4 separate regions of the Homo sapiens genome follow, and all the other regions are linked to region 3. The links are contacts of gene promoters, found by promoter capture Hi-C in human tissues and cell types (Jung and others, 2019). All regions are on one chromosome and are shown on one strand. The core of a region is centred on a gene start or on the middle of the fragment in contact, and the rest is flanking DNA. Distances in the headings are between cores, read along the strand shown. Region 1 has its middle 620 kb from the start of IGFBP3. Region 2 holds the start of LOC105375266 (a long non-coding RNA gene). Region 3 holds the start of IGFBP3 (insulin like growth factor binding protein 3). Region 4 has its middle 530 kb from the start of IGFBP3.

Evidence for each region. The method cuts DNA at HindIII sites, captures the fragments that hold promoters and counts their contacts. A contact is called where the count stands out against the background at its distance.
Region 1: a contact is called between a fragment that was not itself captured here and the fragment with the promoter of IGFBP3 in region 3, in 1 of the 25 tissues and cell types used here (IMR-90 fibroblasts).
Region 2: a fragment that was not itself captured here is called in contact with the fragment with the promoter of IGFBP3 in region 3 in 1 of the 25 tissues and cell types used here (heart right ventricle).
Region 4: a fragment that was not itself captured here is called in contact with the fragment with the promoter of IGFBP3 in region 3 in 1 of the 25 tissues and cell types used here (mesenchymal stem cells).

Annotation. Positions count from the first base shown.
Region 1 is chr7:46,535,533-46,542,279 of GRCh38, forward strand. No RefSeq gene overlaps it. Among named protein-coding and RNA genes, the nearest start is that of IGFBP3, 620 kb to the left of the region's middle. RefSeq lists enhancers at 1-25, 1,207-1,706. The HindIII fragment of the contact is 6,696 bases long and covers 1-5,430 here.
Region 2 is chr7:46,479,712-46,486,725 of GRCh38, forward strand. It overlaps LOC105375266 (a long non-coding RNA gene), which reads right to left and starts at 1,867. Exons shown (of 4, transcript NR_187896.1): 1 at 1,535-1,867. The HindIII fragment of the contact is 5,060 bases long and covers 2,629-7,014 here.
Region 3 is chr7:45,917,940-45,924,422 of GRCh38, forward strand. It overlaps IGFBP3 (insulin like growth factor binding protein 3), which reads right to left and starts at 3,333. Exons shown (of 5, transcript NM_000598.5): 1 at 2,799-3,333. The coding sequence starts at 3,201. RefSeq lists enhancers at 3,136-3,716, 3,717-4,297. The HindIII fragment of the contact is 8,943 bases long and covers 1-6,483 here.
Region 4 is chr7:46,449,594-46,455,623 of GRCh38, forward strand. No RefSeq gene overlaps it. Among named protein-coding and RNA genes, the nearest start is that of IGFBP3, 530 kb to the left of the region's middle. The HindIII fragment of the contact is 7,921 bases long and covers 571-6,030 here.

The sequences.
Region 1 (6,747 bases), core at 833-3,332, 620 kb after region 3:
TTCAGCTGTCCATGGTGTTCTCTGCATGTGTGTCTGTGTCCACATCTCCCCTTTTCCCCACCCCCATCTGTCTACGCACATGGTCGTCTTTGTCCTGGGCTTTCTTCTGCTCATTCTTCAAGCTTCAATTTCCCACATTAGATTTCCTTTCCCCTTGAAAGCCACCTCAGTCCATCATCTTGTCTAGAGATTAAAATATGTCATCCTGGACTAAAATTGCCAGTTTGCCTGACTGTACTTCCACTAGCCTGTAAACTTTTTGAAATTAAGGGCCAGCTTTCTCATTCATCAGTTGTATTTCCAGTGCCTAACCCGGTACATGGCATGCAGTAAGTGCTGAATAAATGTTTGTAGAATGTACGAAAAAATGAATGAACTCAAGCCAGTCTTTGAAAGATGAAGCCTTGACTTATTTTTCACAGAAACTGGACATCTGCCACAGCAGTGGATTTCTCATGAATGATTTAGCACCATCCCCTTGGTGCCGTCCTCATGACAATGAGTGAAACTCTCATGAGATCTGGTCATTTAAAAATATGCCGCACCTTCCTCTCTTCCTCTTGCTCCTGCCCCAACCACGTGGCTTGCCTGCTCCCCCTTTGCATTCTGTCATGATTGTAAGTTTCCTGAGGCCTCCCCAGAAGCGGAGCAGATGCCGTAATGCTTCCTGTACAGCCTGCAGGACTGTGAGCCAGTTAAGCCTCTTCTCTTTGTAAATTACCCAGATCCAGGTATTTCTTTATAGCAATGTGAGGACAAACTAATATAACCCAATAACTGACCTTCACTCTTTCACTTGTACCAAAAATAATTTGTGCAGAACCTGCTCAGCTCCAGCTAAAGGGGGAGTTTCAGCACTTGTGCTCTATGTTGAACAACGCCTAGATATATCCCAACGTTACTGGGTATCCTTGCTCCCAGAGCTCCCAAGATGGTGTTGGGCCGCTTCCAAGATGGTGGCAAGCCTCGTGTTCTCTGACCTGGGGTTCTTGGCCTCACAGATTCCAAGGAATGGAATCTTGGGCCACGGGGTGAGTGTTATAGCTCTGTTAGAAGCCGTGGGTCATGGAAGAGAACCGTGGAACCCAGTGACTACTGTTCAGCTCGATTAGGACGAACGCAGCACTTAGCAGCGCAGGAACATTGGCAAGCCTTTAGCCCGATCAGGAGCGGCAATGGGCACCTCGCTGGATCAGGAGCAGAGAGGACACCCTGCCAAAGGGAGGGAAGTCAGCGGCGGGTCTGTGGCGGCAGCAAACAGCAGTGGTGGATGGCGAGTGAAAGCTCAGCTCGAGCCGTAACAAACATGGACCAGAAGAGAGTGCAGTTGCAAGATTTAACAGAGTGAAGACAGAACTCCTATACAAAGGGAGGGGACCCAAAGAGGGTAGCCGTTGCTGGCTCCAGTGCCTGGGTTTATATCCCGATCATTGTATTGTCCCTCCTGCTGTGTTCTCAGGCGATAGATGATTGGCTATTTCTTTACCTCCTGTTTTTGCCTAATTAGCATTTTAGTGAGCTCTCTCTACCATCTGATTGGTCAGGTGTGAGCTAAATTGCAAGCCCTGTGTTTAAAGGTGGAAGCGGTCATCTTCCCCGCGAGGCTTGGGGATTCTTAGTCGACCTAGGAAATCCAGCTAGTCCTGTCTCTCACCAAGACAGTTCAACAACACCCATCTGTATGGATATGGTAGATTAACAGAATCTCAGGCACATGCCATTTCAGGACGTTCATGCACAGTGGTGTGCTGTGCCAAGCCAGAGTCTCAAACTTCCTTGTGGGAAATGTGAAGGAGATCTCTGCAGGGGAATAGCTATTTTCGAAATTAGAAACTCACAGCATTCAAACATGCTTCAGTTTTCACTACATTCTCTTCTACCAAGTGGAAGGGCTGAGTCAGAAAACTGGTGTGGAATTAGAAAAGATACTGGAAGTATTTTGAATCCATCAAAATAACTAAAATATTTTTGAAGATGTTTTTGGACTGGATAATCCAGAAACATGTTCTGCAAAACTCATCTCCAGCTAATTGACAACTTCATATGTACTTCAAAGAGAATGCCATCATCACGTCTCTGAAACGAGTACAAACCACACATGATACTTTTCTGTTTTAGAAGTCTTTGGATGGCAGCTTGTTCTGGAGCCCAGTGAACTTTGATGAAAGATGGTAAGAAGGGAATATTTCCATAAACATTTTCCCCCTTGAACCAATGGGGTATCATTAAACCAAAGTGAATCAGCAGATGCCCGGCAGGCTCCATTTGAATGGAAATTCACATATGCCAAGTATATCATGCTCTGTAGTCTGGGAAGAAAATATTGTTCTCTAATTGACAAATGGAATTTAAAAGTCAGTATACTCCAAAACTATAGATCTGACTAATGCTACTTTGGTCCTCTTAAACCTGTCTCCACTGAGTTATGATTTAAGAATTTATGACATGTAGATTTAACAATATGTCGCAGCATATTTTTGCATTCTTTTAAATAAAATTTCTACTATATACATTATCTAATGCACTTTATTTATGGAACCATTCAAAATCCACCCAGAACTCATTGCCAGGAAAAGTTTTTTCTACTAGTGACCTGGTGTGACACCTCCTACTTGGCCAGCATTTAATTAAATTTGCTTAATTTATTTTTAGTTCTGTGAGAGATTTAAGATGTTTTGTTTTGTTTTTTGAGACAGAGTCTCGCCCTGTCACCCAGGCTGGAGTGCAATGGCGTGATCTCGGCTCACTGTAACCTTCGCCTCCCGGATTCAAGCAATTCTCCTGCCTCAGCCTCCAGAGTAGCTGGGATTACAGGCACCTGCCACCATACCCAGCTAATTTTTTGTATCTTTAGTAGAGATGGGGCTTCACCATGTTGGCCAGGCTGGTCTCGAACTCCTGACCTCATGATCCACCCACCTCGGCCTTTCAAAGTGCTGGGGTTACAGACATGAGCCACCACGCCCGCCCCTTGTTTTGTTTTTCAAAAGGCGCTGTGGTTAAATACATTTGGGAAAACCTGGATAAATACAGTTAATTGTGATGTAACTGGAAAGCAGCACCAAGCCTTTAGCACTCTGATGTACGTTGTGAAGTTCTGGAAAATGCAGGCTCTGAGGACAACTTTTTTTAGCCAAGAAAACTCTTTCTTTTGAAATACAAAACAACTTTTCAGGTTTAGAGTTCTATAAAACATTCTTGGGGAAATACTATATAATAAGCGTTTTTTTCCCCTCTTTTTCCTGTCTGCATTGAAGCTCAGTGAAATTTTGTGGTCTGCATCTCATGTGTGTTGCTGATTCTTCCTCATGATGTGGGGAGAGGGTGCCTGTGGTAGAAAGGGCAGGACACTACCCTATAGCAGTTTGCCACTTGTAATTGGTGTACAGTTGCGAAGCCTGGCAAGCCTTAATTTTCTGGGGTATAAATTGGCAGCAAAATGTCTACCTTGTGGAATTCTTTGAAAATGTGAAGTTGCAACAATAATGCCATGTACTAATGTTCATTCAAAAATTAGTAGCCACTAGTTACATTTTATCCCATTTTACCTTTACTTATGTATAATTGTCTAAAAATTGTAGTATGTTTTTATTCAAAGCTATTTCAAATTTACATAAGGAAAATGGAATAGCTAAGTAAGTGATTAAAATATTTAAGATATTTAAGTAATTTTAAATAGGAAATAATGTTGGGACTATTTTTCAATTAGCATTTTGCCATATTTTAGGAAATCGATGATAGTTTTTATTCTAGAAAGAAATCAAGCCTAAATATATTGTCTATGTGTTTACGCTAAAAAAAAAGGATTTCAAAGCTCTCTAATTAAAATAAAATATATACATATAATATATATATATATATATTTTATTTTAATGTAGGATTAAAATAAAATATATACATATAATATATATATATATATATATATATATTTTATTTTAATGTAGGAGAAGCCTAAATGTTGGGTAACTTCATTCATTCATGCCTTCATTCATTTAATAACCACTTATGTAACTGGCATAGCCAGTTTGCCAGCGTACTCCAAATGTATCACCTCTCTCACTTTATTTCTTGCCGCACATATATCTAACTACCTGTTTGCTTGAGAATTCTAAAGGCTAATCTTGGAAAAATCCAGGCATGAAGCAGAGATGTTGATAGCAATTTTCTCCCTTTGCAAAAGAAATCAATGCACAATTCATCCATAACTGGATCCCTAGTGAGATAAAACCAACCAGGTCTCTGGATGGTCCATTACTCAAGTCTATCATCAAAAAATGACAAGCAAACCTACACTTCACACCATTCCTGCACATTGTTTCCGTGCTACCTTTCCCTTTAAGGCTCCTTTAGCCCACCTGAGAATTCAAGATAGCTTTTTGAGACTTGATTCTGGCCGTCTTCTAAGTGGCTAGCACTTGAATAAAGCTGCTTTGCTTCCACCCAGCTTTGGTTGTCCTGTATGTGGCTTTTCAAGCAGTGAGCAGCCAATCCTGAGTTTGCTTACAATAGCCAGGTGCCCAGCATGGGGCTACATGCCTCAGGCTATCTAGCCTGCCCAGTATCCAACAGAAGGAGCATTTGGATGCGGCAGCATGCCAAGGCTTACCTGTTCATGCTGTTGGGCAAAGCAAAAACTGCTCATGATTGCTGCTCCTGGCCAGCTGACCTGATGGCTGGGATTCTAGGAATGACCCAACAGCTGCCGAGAACTCTTTTTCTGAGGGAGTCCCCTTGTCTCCCCACTGTGGTATCAGCTGCCTTCAACACTGCACTGGTGTGAAGAAAATGGGGATTGGGAAGCCGACAGGCCTCAGAACTGCAGAAGCTGAACTGGTGTGCTTACCAGAAATCCTGTCTGCCTTTTGAGCTTTGTGCCATTTGGACCTAACATAGTTCGTTTGTGGTACCCATTGCTTTGAATTACAATTTATTAACTTTCCAGTCTCCCTCTATAGGAATTTGCTTGAGAGGACTTCCTTTGTTTGCTTTGATCTCTCTGTGTTTGTGCTCTTCTGTTCTCTACCCTGAGAATGGGTGGCTCAATTTCTATTCCACCTAAGAGCTTGTGAGGCCATATCTTGGATGATTAAAAAGCTCATAGCTACAAACCCATGACAAAAATAAAGCTAATTTAATATTATTAAGAAAAACAGCTACATGTTCTGAGTGATTAGCAAAACGCTCATGTGTTTAACTTTAAGATTCTACTTTGGTGAACATCTGATGTTCCCAGGCTTTAAAAATGGTTAACAAAAAACATGTTTTAATACAAAATTAATTATAAAAATTTTATGCATTATGTTCTTATTTAAAATAAGTTTGTCTAATTCAAAAGTTATCTGAAGATAAATTAAAACTATCGACTTAAAAAGTTATTTATGAAAAACATTTCTAAAATTAACTTGGCTATAATTTTAAAATTTATCTATTGATCTATCTGTTGATTGCTCTATCTATCTATCTATACAATAGTCTTTCTGAAGATTGGTCCCTTGTATTAAAACAAAGTTTTCTTAAGGAATTAAGTTGCTCTTAATAAAATTACAAGAGGTTTTGCTTTTTAATTCTATAGACTGTCTCTTTTTAAAACCTTTCAGATTCATATCTCAGAAGTTCCTTTGCTGCTTTCAGCTTTTTCTCTCCTTGAGAAGGGCTGAGATAGTAACTCTGTCCTTCAACTTTTTCTTCAGCTTCTGTAATTTATTTTCCTTTAGTTTTTACTGTTTTGTGGTCTGATAATAAAATGTTTTATCTTAAAGTGTCCAGAAAAGCAATATTTTCCTGCAGTATAACTTAATTCTGTACTCTTGGCTTTTCTTAGTATGTCTAAATTTTTCTTTTTCTTTTTTATTTTTGAGACAGTCTCACTCTCTCATCCAGGCTGGAGTGCAGTGGCATGATCTCAACTTACTGTAACCTCTACCTCACAGGCTCAAGTGATCCTCCTACCTCAGCCTCCCAAGTAACTGGGACTGCAGGTGCATGCCACCACGCCTCGCTGATTTTTGTATTTTTTTTTTATAGAGATGAGGTTTTGCCATGTTTTCTGGGGTGGTTTCGAACTCCTGAGCCCAAGCAATCTGCTCACCCCAGCATCTCATGTCTAAATTGTTCAATATAATTAAGAGGCTTCTCATGGAATTACTAAGAGTCATATATTTCTTTGCTTTACTCATAAACTTGAACACACTCTCCCTGTGTTTGATTAAATCCAAGTACTTCTTTTAGCAGGTTTGACTACCAGGTTACCTAAATGGACTTCTCACAAGGAAAAACAACCACACTGCAGAAGATTTTTCTTTACCTTTTTGGTAACTGACTAAAAAAAATAAAAACAAAGAAAAAAACCAAGATTTTATATTTTATCAAGATAATTGCTATGTTGTCTTTATTTGATTTTTGATTACTTAGAAAAACCAAGATTTAAGAGGATTAAAATTTTCACATCCATGTAACCTTCTGTATTGCCTTTAAAGTCTTTTATCACTTTGGTGAAATGAGTAACTTATTTTGCAATGACCTGTGATTCTATTTTGATCAAATGTTTTGAGACTTTTAACATCTTTGACAAATGTCCTCAAAATCAAAATTCTAAATTAAGTATTTGACCTAGCCTTATTTACTGGGGACTTATTAAAGCTATAAAAGCTAATCACTGCAAGGTTGTAGAATCTTTTTACAGCTTGCAGTCAAGTCATGGACTCCAGTATCACCACCTTCAGCCTCTTGTAAAGATCCTTATCAGGG
Region 2 (7,014 bases), core at 3,909-6,408, 560 kb after region 3:
TGGCCATTTTCCATTAATTATTTAATTGATTAGCCACATGTAATATGAAATATGTTTTAAAAGGCAGAAAACTGTAAATGTTAAATTTATTTATTTAAATGCGACACTTAGCCTCAGTAACCAACTTAACCTCTTGCTACATTTGGACTTTGGAATCGCCATTGGCCGAAGTACTACCATCATCATTAGATAATTTAGCCAAAGTTAATACCAGGGTCACCATAACCATCCAATTAGAAGTAACATATCCCAGTCCAACTATAGAAAAGCTATTTCTTACAGCACTATCGCAAGTCATAAGGGATGTCCCAATCTACATTTTATATGAACCCCAAACCCTGTGAGGGTTTTTCACAATGTAACTTCAAGAAGCCAGTTCCCCCTTTGCTTCACATATCACTGAACAAAAGGAATTTTCTTGGAAACTTTATCCAACATATTCTGGTTATTAGTATTATGTTTGAGTTTCTATTAAAATCTGAGCATTTGGGGCATTATGTTCTAAAACTATGGATTTTATTGAATTCTGTGCCTGTTTTAGTGGCTTCCTCTGACACTTCAGCTGAGGAAGTGGCCCACTGCCTCTACCTCGCCAGATGGGGTAGAAGTCAAGATTCTCCACCTGGGTCTATTTACACTGAGTGTGGGGAGAGACTCCTAGTTTTTCTGGGTGGAGGGGGGGGGTCGTAAAATCCATGAGGCCTCTGCTATTACCTGGGCAGGAGAAGAGGTTCTGCCTTTTAGTGCTTCCCCAGAGGCCTTCACAGACACCCGGCAAGGGGTCTTGGCCTCCTTACTGCTGGGCAGGGGTGAAAGTTCTGACATGTCTCTGGTGGAGCAGGAGGACAGCCTAGTAGTGGTGGAAGCCCTGCCCCACATCTGCCCCACATGTGTGTGGTTTCTGTTACACTGGGGAAGAGGGGTGGCATCCACTAGGTGAGGATATGAGTCTCATGTCCCTATTCTGCGTTCCCTAACACCTCCTCAGCTGCAGGTTGGGGTTGGGACACTTCCCTGCAGCCTATTGTTCTGGCCAGTGAGGGTGGAAGTCTGGGGTCCCTGCCTGGCTTTTCCTGGCCTGGGTGGAGGTGGGGCCACAGTTTTTCCCTGGTATTTGGCTGGAGTGGGGACATTATTGTCTAAAAGTTTCCTGTGTTGCTAGGCTGCCCCTTTCCTGGTGCTTTGGCTAGACACAGCGAGCTTTTTCTTGGGGGATTGCATTTATTTATTCATTTTGTCTGTGCCTGTTGGCCTTTCCTCATTGCTCACTTGTTGAGATCCAAGTCTGTAACATGTGATGCAAAAAGAAAAAACCAGGGCACTCACCACCACATCAGGCCTTGGGTCTGAAGGTCCCTTCCTGGGCTGCCTTCTCTCTCCCTGCCAGTGTCTTTTTATGTTGGTTCATAAGAGACACTGGCAGGCAGAGAGGCATTATGTGTAACGCCCAAAAGTTTTTGTGGGAAGAATTGGGAAGTACATGTGCTCCTCTTTCTCAGTTCAAACCCTTAACCACTGCTCATTTGTAACTTACTTTTCTGCCATCTGGAATCCCCAGAAAAAGATAAATCCCACTCACTGCCCTTCCACATAGGAGCTTTCCATATTTGAGAAGAGCAGGGTTACCCTCTGAGACTCCTCTCTCCAGGCTGCTGCCCGTGTCCTGGGGAAGCACGACCTCTCACCCAAGCAAAAAATCCCAGCGTGGCCTAATCAGGTGAAATAGTTCACAGGCGTCCTCTTGGCCACAGGGCTCCAATCGTAACAGGTGATGTCTACTATCTAATCATCAATTGAATCATACTGAGCTTGTAATCAACCCATAAATAGCTGGAGGTCTTATTCCTATGAATGTCTAAGCTTTTCTAAGTCCCTGTTCTTGCAGGGTTTGGGGCAGAACTTTCCTGCCTCTGTGATGTTTCACTTGTTTGATTTGGGTCATTGTGTCATCGATAGTGCCCCCATTGTGAACACCTGGGCTGTCTCCTACTGGAGACTTGCAATCCACTGCCATTTCTGTCCTTTAAAGAAGATGAACTCATAAAGGAAAGGCTACTCTAACCAGCCCTGAAATGTTTGTGAATTATTATATATGATTCTTATTAACAGTAGTACAGTATTCATTCATATCCTTTGCCCACTTTTTGATGGGGTTGTTTGTTTTCTTCTTGTAAATTTGTTTAAGTTCTTTGTAAATTCTGGATATTAGCCCTTTGTCAGATGGATAGATTGCAAAAATCTTCTCCCATTCTGCAAGTTGCCTATTCACTCTGATGATAGTTTCTTTTACTGTGCAGAAGCTCTTTAGTTTAATTAGATCCCATTTGTCAATTTTGGTTTTTGTTGCCATTGCTTTTGATGTTTTAGACATGAAGTCTTTGCCTATGTCTATGTCTTCAATGGCATTACCCAGGTTTTCTTCTAGGATTTTTATGATTTTAGGCCTTACATTTAAGTCTTTAATCCATCTTGACTTGATTTTTGTATAAGGTGTGAGGAATGGGTCTAGTTTCAGTTTTCTGCATATAAAGAAGACATTTATGCAGCCAACAGACATATGAAAAAATGCTCATCATCACTGGTCGTTAGAGAAATGCAAATCAAAACCACAACGAGATGCCATCTCATGCCAGTTAGAATGGCAATCATTAGAAAGTCAGGAGACAACAGATGCTCTAGAGGATGTGGAGAAATAGGAACGCTTTTACACTGTTGGTGGGAGTGTAAATTAGTTCAACCATTGTGGAAGACAGTGTGGCAATTCCTCAAGGATCTAGAACCAGAAATACCATTTAACCAGCAATCCCATTACTGGGTATATATCCAAAGGATTATAAATCATTCTATTATAAAGACACATGCACATGTATGTCTATTGTGGCACTATTCACAATAGCAAATACTTGGAACCAACCCAAATGTCCATCAATTATAGACTGGATAACGAAAATGTGGCACATATTCACCATGTAATATTATGCAGGCATAAAAAAGGATGAGTTCATGTCCTTTGCAGGGACATGGATGAAGCTAAAAACCATCATTCTCAGCAAACTTTCAGAAGAACAGAAAACCAAGCACAGCATATTCTCACTCATAAGTGGGAGTTGAACAATGAGAACACATGGACACAGGGAGGGGAACATCACACACCAGGGCTTGTTGTGGGGTGGGGGCTAGGGGAGGCATAGCATTAGGAGAAATACCTAATGCAGTTGATGGGTTGATGGGTGCAGCAAACCACCATGGCACATGTTTACCTATGTAACAAAACTGCACATTCTGCACATGTACCCCAGAACTTAAAGTATAATAAATAATTTTTAAAAAGTACAGTAATGATGAAAGAATTCTACTTTCTTCCATAAAAGTAGAAATAAATCTTTTCATTCTAAAGCTTAAATTTCTCCAATTTGAATTGAGTTCATATTTAATGATTGTAATATTATAAAATGCAAACTTAAAACTGAGTTTTCCTATTTGCTGTACTAAAAAAAATTTCATTAAATTTCTGTACTAATTAGTGGTAACTTGTACAATTTGTGACTGCTTTTACATTTACAAAAATAACACCACATCTAGTATCTAGAGCTTTCCTCAGTGTATTTGAATTCTCCCGTTCATATGTGTTTAATTTGCATGTAACCTACCAGACACATAACTACTATCTATTAGGGATCAGTAAAGAAAGGAAAACGTTTCTTAAATATATTTGCATATAAGCCTTTGATGACAAGCAGATGACACCTGCAAAATCTGGAAGACAAATATGGAACAAAGTTATGAATCTAGGAGTTTCCCGAAGACACTAGCAAATTGCCTACCAAGATGTCAGCAGCAGGCAGTACTTAAGTCAAATTAACCTAGGCCACAATCTGTGCCAGGACCCTTCAGGCTCAAACTCTAATTTTCTCTGTGCGCTGAAGCAGATGTGCACCTCAGAGATGGACTCACTTCAACAAAGACCTCATAGAGCCTGGCGGGTTTTGACTACCACCTGCCGATAGCTCTCAAAGTTCAATAACTACTTTCCAACCCTCTTCAAATAACTAATCCTCCAGGGCTATTTGTGTGTGGTCAGTCTGCTTCAGAGTACCATGGGCTCCTTGGAATTGCTTTGTCCAAAGTAGAAGTCGTTCTTTCTCTCTCAACTCCTGTGTTCTCCTGCACACACAGTCTTCCTGGGAGAACACCATTTGCTCACTCCCTCACACCAGCTCCCTGGGGACTTGCCTGACTACTCCCTTTCTCTCTTACTAAGTTTGTCCATTATGCCTTCTAATAGTTCTCCAATATTCCATCTCATATTCATTCTTCTATGATTAACCTTGCTTAAACTGTTGTCATAATTTCTGTGACTACAACATAAATCTTCCAAATGGATCCTATCCTCCAAGTCTCTTTGCTCTATCCCTGAGTTGTCCAATACACTAGCCAATGGCCATATGTTGCTACTGAGCACTTGAAATGTGACTGGTGTAACCAGTTATCTGAAGTTTTAGTAGTATTTAATTGCATTAAATCAAGAAAATATAGATACTGAATTCAGTTGTTAGAAAACTTAAGAATCTCTGGTTGAGCATGGTGGCTCATGCCTGTAATCCCAGCAGTTTGGGAAGCCGAGGCAGTTGGATTGCTTGAGCTCAGGAGTTTGAGACCAGCCTGGGCAACATAGTGAAACCCTGTCTCAATCAAAAACACAGAAAATTACCTGGGCATGGTGGCATGTGCCTGTGGTCACAGCTACTCGGGAGGCTGAGGTGGAAGGATGACTTGAGCCCAGGAGGTGGCAGTTGCAGTGAGCCAAGATCACACTGCCTCACTCCAGCATGGGCAACAGAGCCAGACTCTATCTCAAAACAGAAAAACAAAAAAACAAAAGAGAGAGAAAAAAACCCTTTCAGAATCTCTGAAAAACTCCGGCATGTGAATGTACTCTTCAACTTTAAATTTAATGAAATCTAAACACAGATCGAGTAATTGTGATGAGTTTAGCATCTGTAAATAAAAATATGCTTTATGTGTAAAATACATGCAAGGTTTCAAACACCAAGTACAAGAAGAGTAAGTGTAAACTATCATTAATAAATTTGTGTACTGATGACATTTTAAATGACAAAAGTTTGAATGTATTGTGTTAAATAAATTACATTATCACATTTATTTCACTTGTTTCTTGTGGCTATTAAAGAATTTTAAAATTGCCTTTGTGGATCACACAATATTTCTATTGTTTGTTTCAACCAATCCATGTTCCACCTCTCAATCCATTGGCTGTCTCTCGATCCATATTCCACCTGCTACCAGCAAGTGAAGTGCTCTGCTGACTCTTCACTTCCTCCTTCCTGACATCTGCCTGTGGAATAGAGCCTAGTGTTCCCTGAAGCCTGACTTCTCTGCCCTGCCCTGGGCACTGCAGGTGGAAGTTTCCACATCACAACTCGAAGGCTACTAGTGGAAACACTTCCTCTCCCAACACCACCCCCCGCATGGGGCACTCTACTTAGAGGGTTGCTTTTCTGTCCCCTTCTCTGCCTCAAAGTCCTTTCCTATTACTCCTTTAAGGCAAAATAAAACAAAAACACAAAGCTGGCCAAACTGTATTTGTCATTTTAGAACCAGCTCAAGGGTGTCATTTTCTCCAAAGTGCAGTTGGTGCCACTACCTCCTCCTTGACAGGTAGATCATTGCCCTGGGCTGTGTCCCACTGGGTCGCTTTCCAAAGTAAGTCATAGTAACACCTGCATGCTATCTTTCTCCCCTACCAGGGAGCTCACTATCTCAGAAACCCAGGAAGCTCCTTTCTAAGGAAATACTTGGATGAATAAATGAACTCAACAGCAATGCCAGTGTTACTAATTCACAAAGATAAACAAAAATCCTCCTGCAGGTTGGAATGCACAGTGGTTTGACCAGGCATTTTTTTCCCATATTTGGAAAACTGGCAAAAGCAAGGCTTTATGAGATACAGGATCAGAAAAAAATGAGAGCAGGTAATCTAAAAAGCGTGGTCAGGGCAGTACAGCTGTGGTTTTTGCAAAGTAGCAATTGCTGTCCATGGGTCAATTGTCTTATCTGCCTCTGCCACAACTACTGTCTTTTCTCTGTGTTCATGGCAATTCCCTGACTCTTTGGCCAATGCATTATCTTTAAAGATATTTAAACATATACAATCCAGCCTTGTTAGCCTGAGGTCCATTCTGCCTTTTCTGAGTAGTTTTTTATCAACCTACCACCTGAGTCACTAACCACTTACTATAAATTTACATCAATCACATTTCCTCCATTCCTGAGTTTATGTGGCCACGTGATAAACAGGCTCATACATTGGTGTGTCTCATCGCAATTTTTAATGTTTAAAAAAAGGGTGTAAATGCTTAAAATCATATTTTCTAAATAAGTGAAACAAATGTTAAGCTTTTAAAAAATTTCGATTTCTTACTTACAAAATTTATTTGTTCTTAATTGCTGAGAGTTTGAAATCTGTGCCTGTCTGAATCTTTCATTCACATGGACATAGACATTATCATCCAACATGAAGTGACAAGGCATTTGACAGAGTGAACATGGAGGAAGGCCACTCTTATCAGTGTGAAAGATAGTTGCATCCTATGAGGATAGAAGACACAGAAGATAAAATCTGAAATACAATAAATATGCACTTGTTTATATTTTTCTCTTCTATAATTACCATAGTGACCTCTTACCTGATAAAAATGTCAACAGAGATGGTAGAAGATGGGTCTCAGCTGTGCTCTCAACAGATTCAACATGCAGAAAACTAGTTTTCAGGGTCACAAAAGTTTAACTCATTTAATGAGCTTATTCTTACATGCCATTATTGAATTAAAAGCATGATTTAGTACTGCAGGGTGGAAAAAAGCAAACTGCATTGCTTTGACAGATAAATTCCTCTCTAGCTTCTTTTAGCAATTCCTAGCATTTGGAATCGCTTCCTATTTAATATTTTTTGTTGTCCTTTTTCATTTTTATTCTCAGTAGTCATTCTAAATG
Region 3 (6,483 bases), core at 2,083-4,582:
CCTTATGGGAATTCCAAGGTTGACCAGTACCGTCCTCAATGCTACCAGGTAAACACGCTTATAAGAGCTTGGTGTCCAGCTCAGATGGGAAAACTGAATTATTACCTGCAAAGCGTTTTGCCTCAGGGGCTCAGAATCATGCAAGCATGTTGGTGGCTTGTTTTCTAGGTCCCCGTTACATCTCTAAAACTCAAGGTCTACACAGACCCTGTGCATCTTGCTGGTGCCTGCCTAAGTGAGTCCTTTTCACCCCGGGTGAACACAGCAGCACATGGATGCAGACAATGCCAAAGTCCCACTCACGGCTCAGACTTCTAAGTGCCAAAGAGCTTTTCCTTCCCTGGGTGGGGGTGGGGTAGGAGAAATCCCCCTCCAGCAGATCTCCCTTTTATAATAAAAAGTGCTAAATGAAGAAAGTCTGATGCTTAAAATGGATGCTGGAATGTTAACAGTTGAATTGGAATTTTAAGTATATGACTAAATTCAAGACTGGATCTGCAGCCAGGATTCTCACTCCATTCCTTCTTCAGAATGAACTTGGAGGGGCTGTAAGACCGCTATGGGGATCAAAGGCTACATTCAGAGCCCATGCTCCCAGGGCCTGTGGACCATGCCAAGGTCTGGAGGCATCGGCTTAAGTCCACAATTGAGAGTCATGAAATTTCTCTACTACAACAAACAGGGCTATAATGTGTAACCCTAGCAGGGAGCTCAGGTGGCCCATCTGGTCCACAGTCTATTCTAGAAAGCTACCTGGGGCTGCAATGATTTGGCTGCAGATGCTCTGCTCTCCCCTGGAAGTGGCTACTGGCAGGTCACTCACCAGGGCCTTAGGAAAGTCCCTCTCCTCTCTGGGTCTTAGTTTCCTCACCTGCCAAACAGCTCACTGAGGTCCTGCTGTAAAGTTCCCCAAGGGGTTTCATACCTTGGGAAGCACACATTCCCAGGGTCCAGCACAGAGCCTCACAGAGGAGGTCCCTACCTGCGAGGATTTGGTTTCAATTTCTTTTAATCTTAGCTTGCTTTCTTTTTCAAGGAAATACTGAGATAAAAGAGATACTAAGAATGTAAATACTCTAAGAACATGTAAATAAACGTATTTATACTTCTTTTCTAAGAACCTTGAGTAATTTCTTAAATTTCCTTGGTTTCTTCTTAATGCCTGGGCTGCAGACTAGGGCATGAAGACAAAACAGTTCTATTTAAGCAACAGATAATTGTGACTTTTGACTGTCGAAAATTTACCTTTTTTTGTCAAATAGATTCTAGAAGTCACTTAGATCTTTTTATAATCTTATAACTCACATCAACCTATACTACAGTGCTACTAAGGTGGTAATCATGATGATTGCTAAAGCCCAAGAATGACGATGTGTATCAGTATTTCTAAGATCACTTTTTGAATACCCCAAAATGCACAATAATGTACGACACTTGGCAAATGACATAACTTTGCCCCGAGAGACAAATGCCTCCAGCAGCTTTAACAGCTGACCAGAGCCAGTGTATGTTTCAGGCATCTTGCCTTTCCATGAATCCAGCATTTCTCAGGGGTGAACAGAGCCAGCCTTGCCGAGCCAGAAAATAACTTCACCCGGGCGTGGAACTCTACAGCTACATAAATTATAAAGGGACTGTTCATCCTGCTAGCCCTAGATGGGGGCCTGCCCAGTGACATCTGTCCAACGTGATCGTTGGGGAGTTGGGGGAATTAGGATGGGGAGAATTCTCCCAGCCTTCAGCTGTGCAAGGCAGGAACTTTATTTCTCATATAACTAGGTGAGGCTGGCTAAGAATGCTTGAAAGAACAGCTGCCAAATCCATTTAAACAACCCCCGCTCCTTTTTTTAAGGGAACAATGTGATGCCCTTACCAGAGTCGCTGTCTGCCTGATACTGATAGTGGCTAAGCCAAGAGGGTAACTCTGCCAAATGTTTGCATTTTTCCTCTTCTGGGGCTCCCCTTAACAACATCTCATTCCCCCCCCCATTTCAGATTAAGAAGGGAGACAGCCCTAGGACTGATTCCAATTCCCTTCCGTGTCATTGAAATTGACTTAGTCCACATTGCCCGCACCCACCACGCACCTGGAAGTTTGTTTGAGGTCGGCGCAGGTGCAGGGGTGGCCCGAGTTGTAAGAATGGTATGGTACTGAAAGTGGCACGCGGAGTTCAAACCTACACTCTGTTGTGGCCGCTGGGTAACCTTAAGAAGTTACTTCTTTTTCAGCTTCAGGTTTTCCAACCGCAGAAGATATCAAAACCCGAATCCACTTTACTTGTTTTTGGACATACCGGGACTAGACATTGCTTTGCAAACCAAAAGGCTGTGCAAAGTCAGTATTTTAAAAGAGAGGTACTATTTCCTACAACGTGCCTGCCCACCTTCCTTGGTCCAAATCCGCCTATATCCCCCCCATCCCCAAGCATCCCTGGGATTGCAGTCCGTGTGCACCCCCGTGCGGGGCGAGGAGAATCTCCTGTGTCCAGGATCTTTCCAACAGCTAAACATCGGTACCGCTCCCCTCAGCTCCGGAAACCTTTAACCCATTTTCACTGAAAGCGCTTTGCAATTTACAAGTACTCTGCACTTAGAGAATCGAGCAAGTAGAGGGCCGGCTGGGGAGGGTCCCTCCGGCGACCGCCTTCACCTTTCCCGGAGCGCCTTCAGTTTCCCCACATATTATCTCCAGTGAGAAGAAAAGCGGAGTCTCCCGCAGCGGCACCCAGCAACCCCCAGGCCCTTCGGCGCCAGTGCGCCGGGTGCTGCACGCAGCGCACCTGGCGCGGGCGGCTCACCTGGAGCTGGCGGCGCTGGCAGCAGGTAGGCGCGCAGGCGGCTGACGGCACTAGCGTTGACGCAGAGCCCGCGGCCGTCCAGCAGCGCCTGCAGCGGTCGCGCCTCGTCGGGCGACGGCTGGCAGCGAAGGCCGGAGCCACAGCGCTCGGTGTAGATGCCGCACGGCTGGCCCTCGCTCAGTGCGCACGTCAGGCAGCAGCCGCAGCCCGGCTCGCGCACCAGCTCCGCGCACACGGCGGGCGGAGGCGCGCACTGGGCCAGTGCACGCGCGTCGCACGGCTCGCAGCGCACCACGGGACCCAAGCCCGCCGAGCTCGCGCCAGCCCGCGCCACCGGCGGCCCGCGGAGCAGCACCAGCAGAGTCAGCGCAGCGGCCCAGAGCGTGGGTCGCGCCCGCTGCATGACGCCTGCAACCGGGGCACGCTGCTTGGCAGGCTGGGCGCGCAGGGATGGGGCGACAGTACACGGCGCGAAGCTGTGGAATCCAGGCAGGAAGCGGCTGATCCTCAGCGCCCAGCCGCAGTGCTCGCATCTGGGCGGCCCGGGCGCGCCGGCCGCTATATAGAAGCCGGGGTGGCCCAGGACACGCCCCGGAACGGCGCGCCCAGGAGTGGGGGTTGGGAGGGGGGCGGGTCGGCGCAGGCACGGCTGCGGGGGCCCGTGCTTCGCCCTGAGCAGCCGGGGCCGAGCTCGGGGGCGTGCAGCTCGAGACTCGCCCGGGCACCTGCTCCTCGTGCGCACGCCCGGAGCCCGGGTCACCTTGTCGTCTACAAGAACCAAGGTGTGCCCGGCCACCCCGGCACTCCAGGCCACCTCAGCACCCCCGGTCACCCCAGTCACTCCTGGCCAACTCAGCACCCCCGATCTCCTTGACCCCGCCGCCCTTACCCCTTCCGCTCTCGGGGTGAGGTCTCCCTGCGGCGAGCCGGTGTCGGGGAAACTGGCATACAGCGCTCCGCATTCGTGTGTACCTCGTGGAGCTTTCTAAAATTTAATTCCGTTGGCAGGCGAAGTCTTGGGACATTTCTGACTTACATTTGGGTCTCAGGGAGCCAAGGCACTGCGGGGTTTAATTTACACCCGCTGGGCTGTTTATATCCCCAGGGGCCCACAAATACGCATCTGAAGATGCGCCCGGGGCCTTCGCCCCTTTCCAGGCTTACTTCTCAACGCAAGAAGACTCTCACGTGTTGCTACACCGCAAGTCTCCAATTAAGAGTGGACCGGCAAGCGAATGCGTCCTTAAGGCAGGGCTTTTCAAATATTTTAAATGACAACTGTTCTTCTTGTCTTGGGTATTCTCCCTGATTATGTTTTCAAATGGAGTTTACACCCATGACAAAAGAATAATAAAGACAATAAACTGGGCACTGCTGAAACGTAATTAACCAAATAGTCCTTTAATAGGCAATTTTCATTGTCATTTTTTGAAGGCGACTTCGTATTACTGTATTCTCGATGCGTTGGGATTCTAGCTTATCTCTGCAATCTAAACACTTTTCAGTAAAGTTCGGGGGCGCAATTGCGCGCTGAGGTCGCTGTAACTCCTGTCGGCCTTCTCTGGCACTCGAGTTTCTTCAGTTTTGTCTGCGCACCCCCTCCCTTCGGTGACCAACAGAGGACGCTGGTGGTCCAGGATTGGATTGAGGATTAAATTTTTCAAGGCACTTTTCCAAAGAGTTTGTGGGGGTGGAGTGGGAAGCGGTGAGACCTCCGCGGGAGGAGACTTTCCTGAACGCTGTTGAAATTGGACGCTTGCCTTAGGAGGTGGATAGGTGACTTGAAGGAGCCCTTTGCAGTTTGGAGTAGTAATAGCAAATCAGGAGCTCCTCCATTCCCCTCCAGCACGAAGCCTTGGGTGAAGTTAATCTTCATTCATCATTTCTGTCTCTCCTAATCGATCTCTCGCCCAGTGTCTCTCCTTGTCCCTCTCCCTCCCTTTCTCTCTCTCGTCCTCTCCCCTTTTCCCCCTGTCCACCTCTTCCCCCATATCTATACAGCTTCCTTTTATACATATATACTCTCCTTTTAGAATGGAAAGATCAATTTCGTTCCCTCTTGTACTAAATAAATAAATAATTGGACCTCTACAAATAAAAAGAGACCAAAGACAAGAACAATGGAGTGCCCCGGGGTGACGAAGGCCCAGCACCGTCATTTTCTTATGAGCTCTTCTCCCACAGTGCTCAGGCTGTGGCTACACTCAACCTTGTTTACAGGAAACCGTGCCATAATCGTCGCTTGCTGTTTCCTTTCTCTTGTATCACCTCCTTCTAGTATCTGCGTTGACACCCAAGAACAGGATCTCTGATTTCATTGGAAAATTGAAGGAAACAAAACGAATCCCCCAGGTTTACATCCGTTCCTTAAATACTCGCAGAGACCTTGACTCTGAAATTAGAGCTGGGTTCGGCATCAAATGCAATTCTTGAGGTCCCAGGTCTGCAGTTCTGGTTAGTGCAATGTTGCAGCAGAGCCTGGACTGACCACTGGTTAGTGTAGCACTTTTTATTCAGCTTTATCATCTGGAGAGTGGACAGGGGAAGATCAGAAACAATGTCTTTTTGGAAAGGATTAAAAAATTTGTTTTATTCTTGGTTCTCTTCTTTTTTCCCTCGCATTGCAGTTGGAGAAACTTGTTCAGTGCCGAATGGCTAGGGGGCGCCAAAGCTCCAGGCGTCCAGCCCGGCCTCAGGGACCACGGGACACACGTAAAGACTAAGTCACATTTCAACTTTCAAAGGCTATTCCAATAACAATGTTTTATATAGATTGCCATCACCTTTATCATGACATCTTGCAACAGCAGAGTAAATTTGAGGCAGTGACACGGGGAGAATTGTGTTTTGTTATTTAGCCAGTTTTATTTGATAACTGCAAGCTCCCTGCCCCTCCCGGAACATAATTGTTGCAGGAAGGATTTGGACTGGATAAAACTTAATTTTGTGACATGCTCGTTAATTCTGTTAAACTTCCAATTCATCTGGTGTTTGTAGTTTTTAACATAAACTAGTATTTAGTGAGAAAGATGTTTACCCCCTGTGAAGGTGCTTGGCATACAATTGCTAATCATTGCAAAAGTAGCGAATAACCATCCGAATAGAGGTCAGGAGGCTGCATAGATCTCTTTTCACTAACGGAGTCCAGCTGACCTGATTATAATTAGTGTTTCCTTTGGTCAGCCTCGTTATTTTCACCAGGTGACCTAAACCACTCATTTCTTTGAGCCCACTCCTGCTGCTAAAGGGCACCTTGTCGCTGCGTGATACTGGCTCCTTTGCTTTTCTTCTGCTCAGCCCCCAGCTGGACAAGCCACCCTAGGGTCTCTCTCCTTCTGACAGCACTACTGTTTCTCAGTGTCCTCTGGGGTGTGGCTATCAGTCTTACTGACCACCAATAGACTTAGAACAGAAAGAGCCAAACTTCTAAAGGCAAGCAGTGTTGGGGACCCAGTTGCTAGGACTCAGTGGCTCTCACCCTATAAGCTTCAGGTTTTTTTTCCCCTTTAGGGGACGTATTGGTGGAGACAGGAAATCTAATTTTCTCTCCATCAGATCGCCTGCTGGGTGAGCCTCCCGGAATTACATATACTGGGCTTGGGGATGCATTGGGGACCATCAACTGCCAACATCACGGTGGCTAACAACACTGCAAATGACTTTTACTCACAAATAACATCATTAA
Region 4 (6,030 bases), core at 3,281-5,780, 530 kb after region 3:
TCGGCCTCCCAAAGTGCTGGGATTACAGGCGTGAGTAGTCTTCCTACCTTTTTCTTCAACTCACCACAGTCCAGACTCAACGAAGCATCTGGAGTGGGCATATGACACTTAAATCACGTTGTGTTACTCTCAGACTCAGAACCCTACAGCAGTTTCTTATTTCCCCCAGAATATAAACCAAAGTCTTTAAGATTGCCTTCCAGGCCAGACATTAACTTCACCTTCTGTGCCTTGCTTCTCTCATCTGTGAGTTGGGTATAACGATAGTACCTGTCTCTTGAGATATTCATGAAAGTTAAGTGAGTTAAGACACGCAGTGAGCACAGAATGTGCCCATTATGAGTTAGTCATAATTCTGACTAAGGGCTGGTTTTGGTTAAGAGGTGTCAACTCCCTCAAATTCAGGATGAGATGCAATATTTATGCCTTTTGACACAGTAAATAAGACTCCACCAAGAAAGGCTTGACTTTTGGAGGTGGACTGGGCAACAGTCCTGCAAGTATAAAGGGAGAAATAAAACACTCTATTTTGCCTCTTTTCCTGGCTCTGAGAAGTTCAAGGTAATATTGATAATCTTCATCCAAGTAAAATTTTAGCTAAAAAAATCCACTTAGAAAATGTGTTTTTAATATTATGTCAATTTGATTTAGTGTGACACTGAATCATGTGACCTTCCAAAATCCAAAACCAAAAGGAAAGCATTAGAACAAATCATCTTTTCTAACTTACTGAAGATCATAATCTTTTAAAGACTTTAAGGAAAACAAATATTAAGAGAAGGACAAGTAGCTTATTTCATTTTTAAATAATTATGTTATTAGTAAATGATCATAAAATTAGCTTTAAACTATTCATTAGTCAAGCAAGTGAACCAATGATGACTATTATTCTATATGTGATCATTATAAGACTTGATCATAAGTATGGCACTGTAGAATTTCCCTGGTTTATAAACACATTGATGTAAGCAGATGTTTATCTTCTCTCTCTTAACAAGAGGAAATGAAAGTAACATATTTAGCGCACTCTGGAAGCCAGGCACGCTGCTAGGTAGAGTTCACACTTTGACCTTCCAAAATCAGACAGTGTGAAAGGATACACATCCTAGAATGCTTTTTTGAGGTCCACAATTTTCACATTATCTCTTCCAACAAGATGGCATTTTCAACTATGGAGAAGCTGGTTTCTGATAGTCAGTTTAATGGGAGATTGTCTGTCTACCTAACATGGTCAACAGAAGAATTGAGGCACTTCATTTTTAATTCCCATTCTTTTTTTCTTGCTTACATTTCTCATGTTATTTTTCACCTTTTTTATTATAACTTTATTTAGATAAAGTCATTTAAGTCTTATTGTGAACAAATACTATCCTGGAGATTACTGAATTTTAAAACTCAGTTCAATAGTTATACTGAGCATCTGTGTTTGTCATTTAAAAAGGAAGAAATCATGACTAAGTTTTAGTCACTGCATTCAAGAAGCATCCAAGATACTTGGTGGAAAAAATCAGAGAAATCCACAAATCTCTTTGATCTTATGATGGCAAGATGAAGTCTGTAAGAAATGTATAAAGCAAGCACACTGGGAGTTTAGAAGACCTGGAGAGACCTAGTTTGAGCCAGCTGGTGAAAAAGCACAAACAGATTAAATGAAGAGGTGGGGCTACATGGTGACTTTGGAGTGAAGATGGACGTGTGACAGTTAGACATGTTAGACCATTAGACGAGGGAAATACTTGAAGCAAGAGCATGAGCTTTCTATAAAGGAAAGGAAAGGAAAGGAGCTTGCTCAGGCAGTGAAGAATAGGCCAGTTTGATTGGAGCAAGAATATAGGAAGGGAAATAAATAGTGGAAAATAAGTTTGGGAAGGTAGATGGATAACCTAAAGAGCCGCTAGGGACTTCTTTATTAGGTGAGCAATAGAGAGCCATGAGAGGTTCCAGAGCAGCAACATGGTGAAGTCAGAGCTCAGAAAGACTTCCCAGGTAAATTAATGTGAAATGACAATGAAAGAATATAGGAAACTCTTACATTATCAGGGAGCATTGACAGGGGATATGTGTAGGATTTTCATTACATATGTGACAAATGGCTACAACTTGGCCACTGCAGTATCAGACATTTCTGACCCTGTTAAAGTGAATTTAGCCACAGCAGGGCAGGGAGTAAGGAGGTATTGTAACAATTGGTAGCGATTGCAATGCTCTGAAATTCCCCAAGTGCACACTATGTTCACCCATAAGAAACTATCATGACTTAAGGAAATTTTAGTGTTGCTATATAAATCTGAACACATGTACTCACTACTGCCCTAATTTAAATGATTAAGAAAAAGTTATATAAAATAATCTTTTTGGAATATTACTATTTACTGTGGTGAGATGCATCTTTAGTTCCATCTACTTGGAAAACTGAGATGGGAGGATTTTTGAGCCAACTAGTTTGAGGCCAGCCTGGGCAACATACCAAGACTATACTATAACAAGATTATAATTTCTAAAAATTTAAATTTTAAATTTTAAAAATGTTTAAGAAAGGATATCATTATATATAAAATTTACAGAAGTTAAATCTTAAGCTTTATTATGGAAAAATACTCACATGAATTATGACATCTGTTTCATGGGATATGATGCTGATAAAATTATTGCTATGTCCAAACCGATTGAAGAAAAAAAACAAGTCACAGAGTATATGAGGAAGTTGCCTTATAATAAACAACAAAGCAAGGATGGATTACAGAATAATCATTAGAACAATTGGCTAGATGTTTAGGGCAAAAAGCTGGATCTTTATTCCTCTCATTATATCTTTACGTTTATATGATTCAAAAATGTAAATGGGCAAGAAAAAGGCATAAAAATACCGCAAGAAAGCATGAGATAAGGCATCTTACAAAAGAAGAGTTAAAGTTGGCAATAAGTATAAAATGCAACCAGATAAAACAAAAACATGAAGACATATCAAATTGGCAAGATTAAAACTTCAAAAGACAATCTTAGTTTTGAAGTTTTGCAGAAATACACAAACAATAGTAATAGTGGGGGTGTAAAATTGGTAGAAATTTATAGTGAGCATGTTGGCACTTGTAATGGTTAGTCTCATGTGTCAACTTGGCTAGACTACAGTAGACAACTGTTTAATCCTACACCAATCTAGGGGTTGCTGTGAAGGCATTTTATAGATGTGGTTAGCATCCACAATCAGTTGACGTTAAGTGAAGGAGATTACCCTCTATAATGTGAATGGACCTCATCCAATCATTTGAAGATCTTAGGAACAAAAACTGAGGTTTCCTGGGGAAGAAGAAATTCTGCTTCAAGACTCCAGTATCAATTTCTGCCTGAGTTCCAAGTTTGTTGGCCTGCCTTACAAATTTCAGACTTGTGAGGTTTTGGATTGCCACAATCCTATGAGCCAACTCCTTAAATCTCCCTCTCTCCAAAAAAAAAAAAAAAAAAAAAACCTCTTTCTCACTGAAAAAATATATATATCCTGTTCCTGTTTCTCTGGAAAATCCTGACTGATACTACTCTACATATAAGAATTTAACATGTACAGCTCTATTTTATAAATTTACCTCAATAAGCTAATTTTACAAGTTGGAAAAGACATATATACAAGTATATTAATTTCTGTGTTTTTTTTAAATTATACTTTAAGTTTTAGGGTACATGTGCACAATGTGCAGGTTAGTTACATATGTATACATGTGCCATGTTGGTGTGCTGCACCCATTAACTCGTCATTTAAAGTTAGGTATATCTCCTAATGCTATCTGTCCCCCCTCCCCACACCCCACAACAGGCCCCGGTGTGTGATGTTCTCCTTCCTGTGTCCATGTGTTCTCATTGTTTAATTCCCACCTATGAGTGAGAACATGTGGTGTTTGGTTTTTTATCCTTGTGATAGTTTGCTGAGAATGATGGTTTCCAGCTTCATCCATGTCCCTACAAAGGACATGAACTCATCATTTTTTATGGCTGCATAGTATTCCATGGTGTATATGTGCCACATTTTCTTAATCCAGTCTATCATTGTTGGACATTTGGCTTGGTTCCAAGTCTTTGCTATTGTGAATAGTGCCGCAATAAACATATGTGTGCATGTGTCTTTATAGCAGCATGTTTTATAATCCTTTGGGTATATACCCAGTAATGGGATGGCTGGGTCAAATGGTATTTCCAGTTCTAGATCCCTGAGGAATCACCACAGTGACTTCCACAATGGTTGAACTAGTTTACAGTCCCACCAGCAGTGTCAAAGTGTTCCTATTTCTCCACATCCTCTCCAGCACCTGTTGTTTCCTGACTTTTTAATGATCGCCATTCTAACTGGTGTGAGACGGTATCTCATTGTGGTTTCGATTTGCATTTCTCTGATGGCCAGTGGTGATGAGCATTTTTTTCATGTGTCTTTTGGCTGCATAAATGTCTTCTTTTGAGAAGTGTCTGTTCATATCCTTTGCCCACTTTTTGATGGGGTTGTTTGTTTTTTCTTGTAAATTTGTTACAGAATGGGAGAAAATTTTTGCAATCTACTCATCTGACAAAGGTCTAATATCCAGAATCTATAATGAACTCTATGTTCTTTATATAATTGAAATACTTGACAACAAACGTCCATTTCCTAAGGGCTGGTTAATAGTCATGTAATAGAAAACCATGGAGTCATTACCATAAAATCTGAAATTTGTTTTAATTAATGTTCTTCAGAGTTGGCATTTTTTTTCTCTTCTATTCTTCTAGGGTTATTCTTTGTACAGAGGATGAAGAAATCCATGTGCACAGATTGGACTTCTCCCTTGGGCCGCGGAGATGTTCCCAACTGTCTCCCGGACATTTCCAGCTCAGAGTCAACAGATGATTGGAGAGTTATCTCATCTGCTACATATTTACTTAGTCACATCTCCTAACTGCTCCAATCACCCAAGAGCAAAATCTAAGTGTCTGCCTTAATAGTTCTTATCAATGCATCACCATTCACAGATGTGCATGCACTTATACATACACTCCTTCAATCCATCCTACGTGGTGTTGATTGTATCTCCAATACATTCTTCATAACCCTTCTTTCTTCTCTGCCTTCTACAGTCCCTATCCTGGACAAGACACTAATAATTTCTGAGGGGTATAATTTTAATACATTATTCTCTGAACTCCCTACTGACAATTCATGTTCTTCACATTGCAAATAAAGTTCTCGCTCTCTAAAATGGCAGTTGATTATGTTACTCTCTTTGTATTTGTTTTATTATTATTAATTTCAATCTTCTAAAGTCCCCCCACTGCTTATACTATAGCAGCCAAATTCTCACAGCCCAGAGCTTGGCTTTCTACATTCTGCTCCTGGCAAGCTCAAGCTCTGCAGTTCCGTCTCCTTCTGTTTTCCCGTGGCTTCCCAGGCTGCTGTTCAGTCTTCCTGGAGTCACTCCTGATTGTCTTGTGGTTGCTTGCAGCCTCCTTCTCTGTGCACATGGCATTTTCTGTGCCAGAAACACTGCTAATCTATTATGAGCCTGGTCAGTTTCTGCTTATTCTTCAAGTTCCCTCTCAAGGGGACACTTCTGTAAGTCTTCTTTCAGCATCCTGAGTGGAATTGATTACCACCTGCTTCATGTGTCTTATGACCTTATGGAATCCCTCTCACAGTCCTTTTTCATTGTAATGTCCATCTGCTCCAAACAGACCGTGCTCTTCAACAGTGAGGACTAGGATATACTCCATAACCTAGCCCCACACCTGCAGGAATAGATGTCTTAGTTTAGATTCTACCTAAAAGTAGATCCTGAAGCAAGATCTTAAGTGCAAGAGGTTCCGTTTGGAGGTGATTCCCCAAGAAGCACAAGAGAGAGAATAGGGAGGTGAGGCATGGGAGGAAGGAAAGCTGTAAAGGCTACTAATCAGTGGGTCATCCCTCCAGGCAACTGGGATTCAACTGGACAGGGTGCACCTGAAGAATCATATAGAACATTCCTCATAATACACTAAATCTTATTTTGTCACATCTTATAAATTTATCTTTTGAAG